3 separate regions of the Homo sapiens genome follow, and regions 1 and 3 are each linked to region 2. The links are contacts of gene promoters, found by promoter capture Hi-C in human tissues and cell types (Jung and others, 2019). All regions are on one chromosome and are shown on one strand. The core of a region is centred on a gene start or on the middle of the fragment in contact, and the rest is flanking DNA. Distances in the headings are between cores, read along the strand shown. Region 1 overlaps TNRC6B (trinucleotide repeat containing adaptor 6B). Region 2 holds the start of FAM83F (family with sequence similarity 83 member F). Region 3 holds the start of ADSL (adenylosuccinate lyase).

Evidence for each region. Contacts are between HindIII fragments. The study calls those that stand out against the background at their distance.
Region 1: a fragment that was not itself captured here is called in contact with the fragment with the promoter of FAM83F in region 2 in 4 of the 25 tissues and cell types used here (H1 embryonic stem cells, IMR-90 fibroblasts, dorsolateral prefrontal cortex and 1 more).
Region 3: the fragment with the promoter of ADSL here is called in contact with the fragment with the promoter of FAM83F in region 2 in 3 of the 25 tissues and cell types used here (IMR-90 fibroblasts, aorta and lymphoblastoid cells).

What each region holds. Positions count from the first base shown.
Region 1 is chr22:40,259,795-40,262,494 of GRCh38, forward strand. TNRC6B (trinucleotide repeat containing adaptor 6B) reads left to right here. Exons shown (of 23, transcript NM_001162501.2): 4 at 2,038-2,379. It overlaps LOC124905121 (a long non-coding RNA gene), which reads right to left. Exons shown (of 2, transcript XR_007068107.1): 2 at 1-574. Among named protein-coding and RNA genes, the nearest start is that of TNRC6B, 83 kb to the left of the region's middle. The HindIII fragment of the contact is 8,779 bases long and covers 1-2,700 here.
Region 2 is chr22:39,993,546-39,996,245 of GRCh38, forward strand. It overlaps FAM83F (family with sequence similarity 83 member F), which reads left to right and starts at 1,409. Exons shown (of 5, transcript NM_138435.4): 1 at 1,409-1,986. The coding sequence starts at 1,498. LOC124905155 reads left to right here. Exons shown (of 2, transcript XM_047441700.1): 2 at 803-1,223. The coding sequence ends at 1,223. RefSeq lists an enhancer at 1,124-1,757 and a silencer at 1,332-1,451. The HindIII fragment of the contact is 11,866 bases long and covers 1-2,700 here.
Region 3 is chr22:40,345,216-40,347,915 of GRCh38, forward strand. It overlaps ADSL (adenylosuccinate lyase), which reads left to right and starts at 1,285. Exons shown (of 13, transcript NM_000026.4): 1 at 1,285-1,496. The coding sequence starts at 1,344. RefSeq lists enhancers at 800-1,313, 1,314-1,827, 1,828-2,340 and a silencer at 1,538-1,627. The HindIII fragment of the contact is 18,864 bases long and covers 1-2,700 here.

The sequences.
Region 1 (2,700 bases), core at 198-2,697, 270 kb after region 2:
GGCCCCGCATCATTTTAGCAGTCAAAGCAGTACTACCCCCAGAGTTGGCCCTGACGTTACCCTGGGAGGCAGGGATTTGGGCCTCAGAATCATCCGAACTGTCAGGCTTGATGATTATTTCTGTACGACTTCCAGCCTCTATTTGCCAGGTAGATTTTTATGGAGAGGGTAGTGATCTTCTGGCAGCATGCAGCGAGGGAGGTACAGATCTAAGAGAGCCTTCTCTGTATGTTCGACGGGAAGAGCCAGAGGGTCCGGCAGAGTGCGGTTTCACGGTTGCCCCGACATTCCCACGCTGTGTGCGGGCCATTTTTAAAATTAAGTTTAAAAAAATCAAATGATTTAAAGTAAACAGAAAAAGTATTTACATTTTGAAATTTCTATTTTAAAGAATTGGGAAGAAACACTTTTTTTTTTTTTTAAAGAAAAGCAAAAAGATTTGTAACATTTCTAGTATTTACACAGAGAGCGGTGCAAGTCTTTGAGTCCAGGTAGCTGTAGAAACCAGAACCAAGCTGAGTTTGTGATTTTCTAGGCCTGGAGTTTCTTGTAAGAGTCCACTCTGTGCCATGCCCTAAGGAAGAAAGAAAAGATGAAAGATGGGTCCTTGCCCTCAGGAAGTCATGGCCTGGTGAGGGAGAAGGACTTGTAAATGGAGAATTTCTGTGATAGAGAGAGATGGGACTTGTAGATGGAGAATTTCGGTGGTAGAGATAGATGGATTTTTGAATGGAGAATTTTCATGGTAGAGAGAGATGGATGATGTGTTCCAGGAGCACTTAGGAAGAATGTTTAGCCCATCTAGGCCAGGGGCTTCAATAAAGTTTACTCAGGGGTAGATCTTTTAAGAATGTGGATGAAGGGAAGGGACCCTTGGACTGAGGCTTGAAACCTTTCCCAAGGACTTTGCCATGGACATTTAACTCTTCTAGGCAGCACTTCAGGGAATTAATTCCACTGTTGATTTAGGGGAGTGAATGTTGATTGCTTCCCTCTCCGCCTTAATTAATGGAATGTATTCCATGACCTTGCTGTGTTTAAATTCTTGTCACTGTCAGCCGCCACCTTCATCCTACCTTCAGCAAACTGGAGAGATTGTGGAGAATTTGGAAAAACTGTTTCCCTTGAGAGTAGAGTAAAAGGAGAAGTTACTTTGTTAGAATTGGTACCATGTAAGCTTTCTTACAAATAATCTTAGCCAGGGTCTGGGTGTGGTGGCTCACACCTGTAATCCCAGCACTTTGGGAGGCCGAGGTGGGTAAATAGCTTGAGTTCAGGAGTTCGAGACCAGTCTAGGTAGGCAACATGGCAAAACCCTGTCTCTAGAGGAGGAAAAAAAAATTAGTTGGGCATAGTGGTGTATGCATTGTAGTCCCAGCTACTCAAGAGGCTGAGGTGGGAGGATCACTTGAGCCCTGGAGGTAGAAGTTGCAGCAAGCCAAGATCACTGCACTCCAGCCCGAGTTATACAGCAAGACCTCATCTCAAAAAAATAAAAAATAGGCTGGGTGCAGTGGCTCATGCCTGTAATCTCAACACTTTGGGAGGCCAAGGCAGGCGGATCATGAGGTCAGGAGTTCAAGACCAGCCTGGTCAACATAGTGAAAACCTGTCTGTACTAAAAATACAAAAAATTAGCTGGTTTTGGTGGTGGGCGCCTGTAATCCGAGCTACTTGGGAGGCTGAGGCAGGAGAATTGCTTGAACCTGGGAGGCGGAGGTTGCAGTGAGCGGAGATTGCACCACTGCACTCCAGCCTGGGCGACACTCACACTGGGTGACAGTGTGAGACTCCGTCTCAAAAATAAATAAATAAATAAATAAATAATAATCTTGGCCAGGCACAGTGGCTCACTCTTGTAATTCTAGCACTTTGGAAAGCCAAGGTGGGAGAGTCCCTTGAGCCCGAGTTCAAGACCAGCATGGGCAACATGGCAAGACCCCATCTCTAAATAAAATAATAAAATTATTTTTAAAATTTTTAGAAAAAATGTATTTGATGTATTTCAAAGACTGTTTCCCAACCCCTCTCTTTTAGTGCCCGAAGTGACGAAACCAAGTTTAAGCCAACCAACGGCCGCCAGCCCAATTGGCAGCTCTCCATCGCCACCAGTCAATGGTGGCAACAATGCCAAAAGGGTGGCAGTGCCGAACGGACAACCGCCAAGCGCCGCCCGCTACATGCCTCGGGAGGTGCCGCCGCGATTCCGTTGCCAGCAGGACCACAAAGTGTTACTAAAACGTGGGCAGCCCCCTCCACCGTCCTGCATGCTCCTTGGGGGTGGGGCAGGGCCTCCTCCCTGCACAGCACCTGGAGCAAACCCAAACAACGCACAAGTGACAGGAGCGCTGCTGCAGAGTGAGAGTGGGACTGCGCCAGGTAAGGCACCCTGTGAATCGAATGCATGGCAGCTTGACAGAGAGAGAGCACTTTGTTTGCATTGCTTGATGTAAAGTCCAGGAAAGCCATTCATTATATAAACCACTGGGATTAGTCAAAAGATGAGAGAGGATCCTAGTATGCGATGTGTATTGGTGATTCTTGGAACTGAGGTTTAGTGTTCCGTAAGTGTGTGCTCTTGGCATAAGGGCTAACTTAACTGCTGTTGCTTATTATTTTGGGGGCCTTTTTTCCTTCTCAGACTAGAGTGTTACAAATTTGAGCCTCCATAGTTCCACCGTCATATGTGTTCAGGGCATA
Region 2 (2,700 bases), core at 159-2,658:
GACAAGTGAGGTGATGGACACCTTGCTGCTCACCACTCCCAATCTTTGGGCTGACACAGGATGCCAGAACTGATTATTGTAAAAAAAAAAATAATAATAACAATAATGTGCAGACATTTGAAAATCTAACTCTCATTTTTTCCAGAGCATGAAAGGAAGGCCTAGAAATGGTAAGTGACCTTTTCAAATCCCCTGGGGTGAAAACCAGGTCCCCAATAACCTGTCGTTTCACAAGAAAAGGAGAAAGGGTAAAGGCGGCCGTGATGTCAGCGAAAGACCTCCAAGACAGAAAACCTTGCAGTCCCCGTGCTCTGCCTCTTTCACGGGAGACCTGGGCAACGCACACGTTGCTAGGCCTCAATTTCTTCAACTGTAAAATGAGGGGGTTGGAGGAGCTTGAAAAGCTCCTTCCAGCTCTGAGATGCTGCGCTATAAAGTGAGAGAAATGTGAACCTTTAGTTGTTATGATCTGAAAATATTTTGAATGTGGAGAATCAAATTGTAGAGCAGTGCATGAACAACATAATATGTTAATGACTAAGACGATTGTATTTAATCCGATGGGAAACAGCAGAGCTGCTGCCACCGCTGCTGTGTGTGTGCGTGTGTGTGGTGTGCACGCACGTGCGGTTTCCTTCCTTGAGCTCAAACATACATTTTGAATCACTAATATAGTAATCATGTCTCTGGCAGCCTATCTTGCCCAAACACACACGGAGAGACACCACACACCCTACTTCAAATTAAGGTGGGGGCGGGGGGAATTCCACTGCTGCTCTTTACATCATTTCTGTTTGGATAGCTATTTTTTAAAAGAAAGTTTTACAGTGAAGGTGTTGGACTCCCAGCCCAGAAGGGCTCTGATCTCAGAACTGGGACGCAAGGGTGGGGAGCTCGAGCTCTCATTAGCATTTCGCTTTTGCACACCCCCTGCCCGCTCCTCAGCCGTCACAATCCCGTCCTGCAGCAGGCCCCCCCACCAACACCGGACCCTCGACGGGGAAGGGGTCAGCTCGGCGGCCCCAGAGGCCACTGGGCCAGAACACGTGCTCCGGACTCCACGTGCGCGGAAAATGAACTCGTACCCGCGACGCGGCCGGCGGGGGCGGATGGCAGCGAGGGCCGGACAGCGAACCTTTACCCCGCGGAGGAGTCGGGGCCGGAGCCCGCACGTGGGTCTGCGACGGCCCCGCCCCCTGGGGGCGTCCCCTCAGGGACTCTAGCCCCGGCTGGTGGGCCCTGCAGGCCCGGGCCCGACCGCGTCCGCCAGGCCGCCCGGAGGTCCCGGCGAGCCCGGCGGAGGCGGCGGCCCCTCCCCGCCCGACGGCCACGCCCGCGCGGATTGGCCGCTCCCCGACGGCGGGGCGGGGCGGGACGGGCCGGGGCAGAGCTCGCGGCCAGGTGAGGCGCCCCGCCCCTCGGCGGCTCCAGGTGCGGCTGTGGGACCTCGGACCGCGGCGGGGCCGGGGCCAGGGCCGGGGCCGGGGCCGGGGCGCCATGGCCGAGTCCCAGCTGAACTGCCTGGACGAGGCGCACGTGAACGAGAAGGTGACCGAGGCGCAGGCCGCCTTCTACTACTGCGAGCGGCGGCGGGCCGCGCTGGAGGCGCTGCTGGGCGGCGGCGAGCAGGCCTACCGCGAGCGGCTCAAGGAGGAGCAGCTGCGGGACTTCCTCTCCAGCCCGGAGCGCCAGGCCCTGCGGGCCGCCTGGAGCCCCTACGAGGACGCCGTCCCCGCCGCCAACGCCCGGGGCAAGAGCAAGGCCAAGGCCAAGGCCCCCGCGCCGGCGCCGGCTGAGTCCGGCGAGTCCCTGGCCTACTGGCCCGACCGTTCCGACACCGAGGTGCCTCCTCTGGACCTGGGCTGGACGGACACTGGTTTCTACCGCGGCGTGAGCCGGGTCACGCTCTTCACCCACCCGCCCAAGGACGAGAAGGCGCCGCACCTCAAGCAGGTGGTCAGGCAGATGATCCAACAGGCCCAGAAGGTAGGCCCCCGCCTTCGCCCCCACACCGCTGGGACCTCGGCCCCAGTCCCCTGGACCGGGCCCCACCTCCCAGGCAGGGCCCGGGGCAGGCCGCCCTGAGCACCCTCTGGAAAATGGGCCCCAACCCGCCCCTACTTCCTGGGGCTGCAGTGAGGCCTGTAGAGCGAATGGCTGGGAACGTGTTTGGCAAATTACAAGGTGCTGGACAGATGTCAGCCGTCGGTATTCCAGCGTTCAGAGGCACTGGCTCTGCTCTGTACTTCTGAAACTTCCCTGTCCAGCCTTCCTCCCCAGGGAAGACTGGGGGCCGAGGCCCTGTGGTTAAAATGCACCACTCAAAGGTCTTGATGATAACCTACGTGCTGCCCAGAACATATCCCGAGCCGCTTTCTCATGTGATCGTCAAAACAACTTCAGGGAGTGGGTGGCGGTGACCTTCCCGGTCCCACCTCTGCCATGCTGCTCCTTGGACCACCCCTCTCCTCCCATAGTCAAAGCTGAGCTGGCGCCCTCACAGTCACAGCCTCTCCTGGGCCGGGTACTAGGCCCCAGCTGCCTGGAATGAATGGGGGACGGGGTATATTGAGGACCTACTGTGTGCCTGGCCCTGTGCTGGGCGCCTTGGCACAGCAGGTCACCTGACTCGGCAGCTCAGGAAAGGGCTCCTACTTAGCATATGTGTCCTGCTTGAGAGTTGGAAGGAGGGGCTGTTTC
Region 3 (2,700 bases), core at 35-2,534, 350 kb after region 2:
GGTCTCACTGTTGCCTAAGCTGTAGTGGCAAAATCATGGCTTACTGCAGCCTCAACATCCTGGGCTCAAGTGATTCTCCCACCTCAGCCTCCCAAGTAGCTGGGACTACAGGTGCACACCACCATACCCAGTTAATTTTTGTATTTTTTGTAGAGACAGTGTTTCATCATGTTGCTCAGGCTGGTCTCCAACTCCTGGACTCAAGCGATCTGCCCAGCTCAGCCTCCAAAGTGCTGAGATTATAGGCGTGAGTCACCGTGCCCAGCTGAGACACCTGGCTCTTACAGCTCCAGATGAACCCTTTCCTGTGTGATCACCCCACTGGCACTCCAGACTGAACAACATAGCAAGACCCTGTCAAAAAAAAAAAAAAGGGGGGGGGCCACTTGAGTGTTTCTATTTCTATTTATTTATTTAATTCTTTTATTTTTTGGAGACGGAGTCTCGCTCTGTCGCCCAGGCTGGAGTGCAGTGGCGCGATCTTGGCTCACTGCAACCTCCGCCTTCCGGGTTCAAGAAATTCTCCTGTCTCAGCCTCACAAGTAGCTGAGACTACAGGTACAGGCCGCCATGCCCGACTAATTTTTTGTATTTTAGTAGAGACAGGGTTTCACGTGTTGCCCAGGCTGGTCTCAAACTCCTAAGCTCAGGAAATCTGCCTGCCTCGACCTCCCGAAGTGCTGGGATTACAGGCGTAGGCCACCGCAGCCGGCTCACTGGGGGCGCAGTAAATGCCGATTTCCCTTGGGTATCTTCATTTCTCCTTAGAGCCGAGCTCGGTGCGCCGCGGGCAGGAGTGGGTGGGGCGACAGTAATAAGAGTAACAGCAAGCGTACACACGGCCTTCCAAGTGTGCCAGACACCGCTCTAACACTGAATCCGCACAACCCGAAAGGCAGGCCTTTTTTTTTTTTTTTTTTTTTGCTTTTTGTTTTTTAGAGACGGGAGGGTCTCCCTGTGTTGCCCAGGCTGGTCTCGATCTGTCGGCCTCAAGCGATCCTCCGGTCTGGGGCCCCCACAGTGCTGGGATTACAAGCGTGAGCCACCGCGCCCGGCCAAGGAAGTCTTAATGTACCTCTTTTCAGACAGGAAAACTAAAGTGTAGCGCGGCTAAGTAACGTAGGAAGCATCAATCATGTTTCTGGTCAAAGAAGCGAACCAAGTCAATTCTCAGGCAGAAGCAGCGGAGATTCTCCGCAGCCGGCAGCGCCCAGGGCGCCCGGAACCCAGAGAGCGAGACCGCGTGAAGGAAGTCCCGCCCCGCCCCGTCCTGCCCTGGCCTCCAGGTTTCCGCTTCCGCTCTTCCCTGGTCCAGTCCACCCTGGCGGGGTCGCAGGGTTGGGATGGCGGCTGGAGGCGATCATGGTTCGCCCGACAGCTACCGCTCACCTCTTGCCTCCCGCTATGCCAGCCCGGAGATGTGCTTCGTGTTTAGCGACAGGTATAAATTCCGGACATGGCGGCAGCTGTGGCTGTGGCTGGCGGAGGCCGAGCAGGTAACGGATCCCGGGCTGAGGGGCTGGGCCGGGAGGGACGGGCCCGCCCCAGCACGTGCCGGGCTCTGTTCCGGGCTGGGCTTAGCCACCCCGGAGCTGCGGCCCGGCTATTTTCAGCTGGGTGTTCCCTGTCCTGAGGAGCTGCGGCCCCAGGAAAGCAAGGGCAGGAGATCCGGGAGCCGCCACCTGTTGCCTCACGTGTTCTCAGTCCGAGAGGGTTCGAGACGCGGAGGAGGCTGGGAGAAATTCAGCCTGTAGTTTCAGGGAATTCATTTTGGCCATCCCCGCAGGAGTACGCTGCTAACCACAGACACCGAGCGCTTGTTTCGTACTGTTGTGCTCATTATTTCACTAATCTTTTCTTGTGTAATCCATGAAGATCTTGCAGGCTTGATGGTGTTTTTCCCACATTGCAGGGGAGAACAAAGCCCGGACAGCTTGTTGTTTGCCCTAGCCCATCCAGCTATTAAGAACGGAACTGGGATTTGAACCTGGGTGCACTCCAGAGCCTGAGCTGAGCACGTAGCCCCTTGGTTTTCCACAGTGCCTGTGTAGTTAGTGACAGGACTGGAATGCTTGTTTTCTAGGCCACCGTTTCTGCCTCACTGGCCTCCGCTTTGCCTCTTAGGAGAAGACTCCGGGTAGGGGTTTATTAAACGGGGTTTATAATTTCTTTTCTAAGGGCTGCATAGAGAACTTCTTAGCCCAGCGGTTTCAGAAATAGCTCCAGAAGAGTTGAAGCAAACTGAAGGTGATCCAGAGAGCGATAATGTTTCTCCTCAAGTTTCAGAGGAAAGTGCCACAACGAGCAAGTTGGCAATGCCCTCTCAAACGGCACAGTAAACATGGAAACAATTTGACTTCGGGCCTAGGACCTGTACCATGGAACTCTCCAAACAGGAAACTTTCATTCTAGATTCCCTCCCTCCCCTTATCACTGCCCTCCAAAATATTGGGCGATACACTACAATAATAGCAGACATTCAGATAGTGCCTTCTGAGACCCAGGTCTTAACCCTTTACACATGGTTGCTTATTAATCCTCCAAACAACCCTGAAGAGTAGGTATGAAATACTATGACTGTACCTGTTTTACAGATGGAAGAATGAAGCATCAACTTAATAAACTCTTGGCGTAGATAGCGATAGTAGTAGACCTTAATCATGTGTTGTGGTTTGTGATGTACTAGTGTGTACTCTTTCT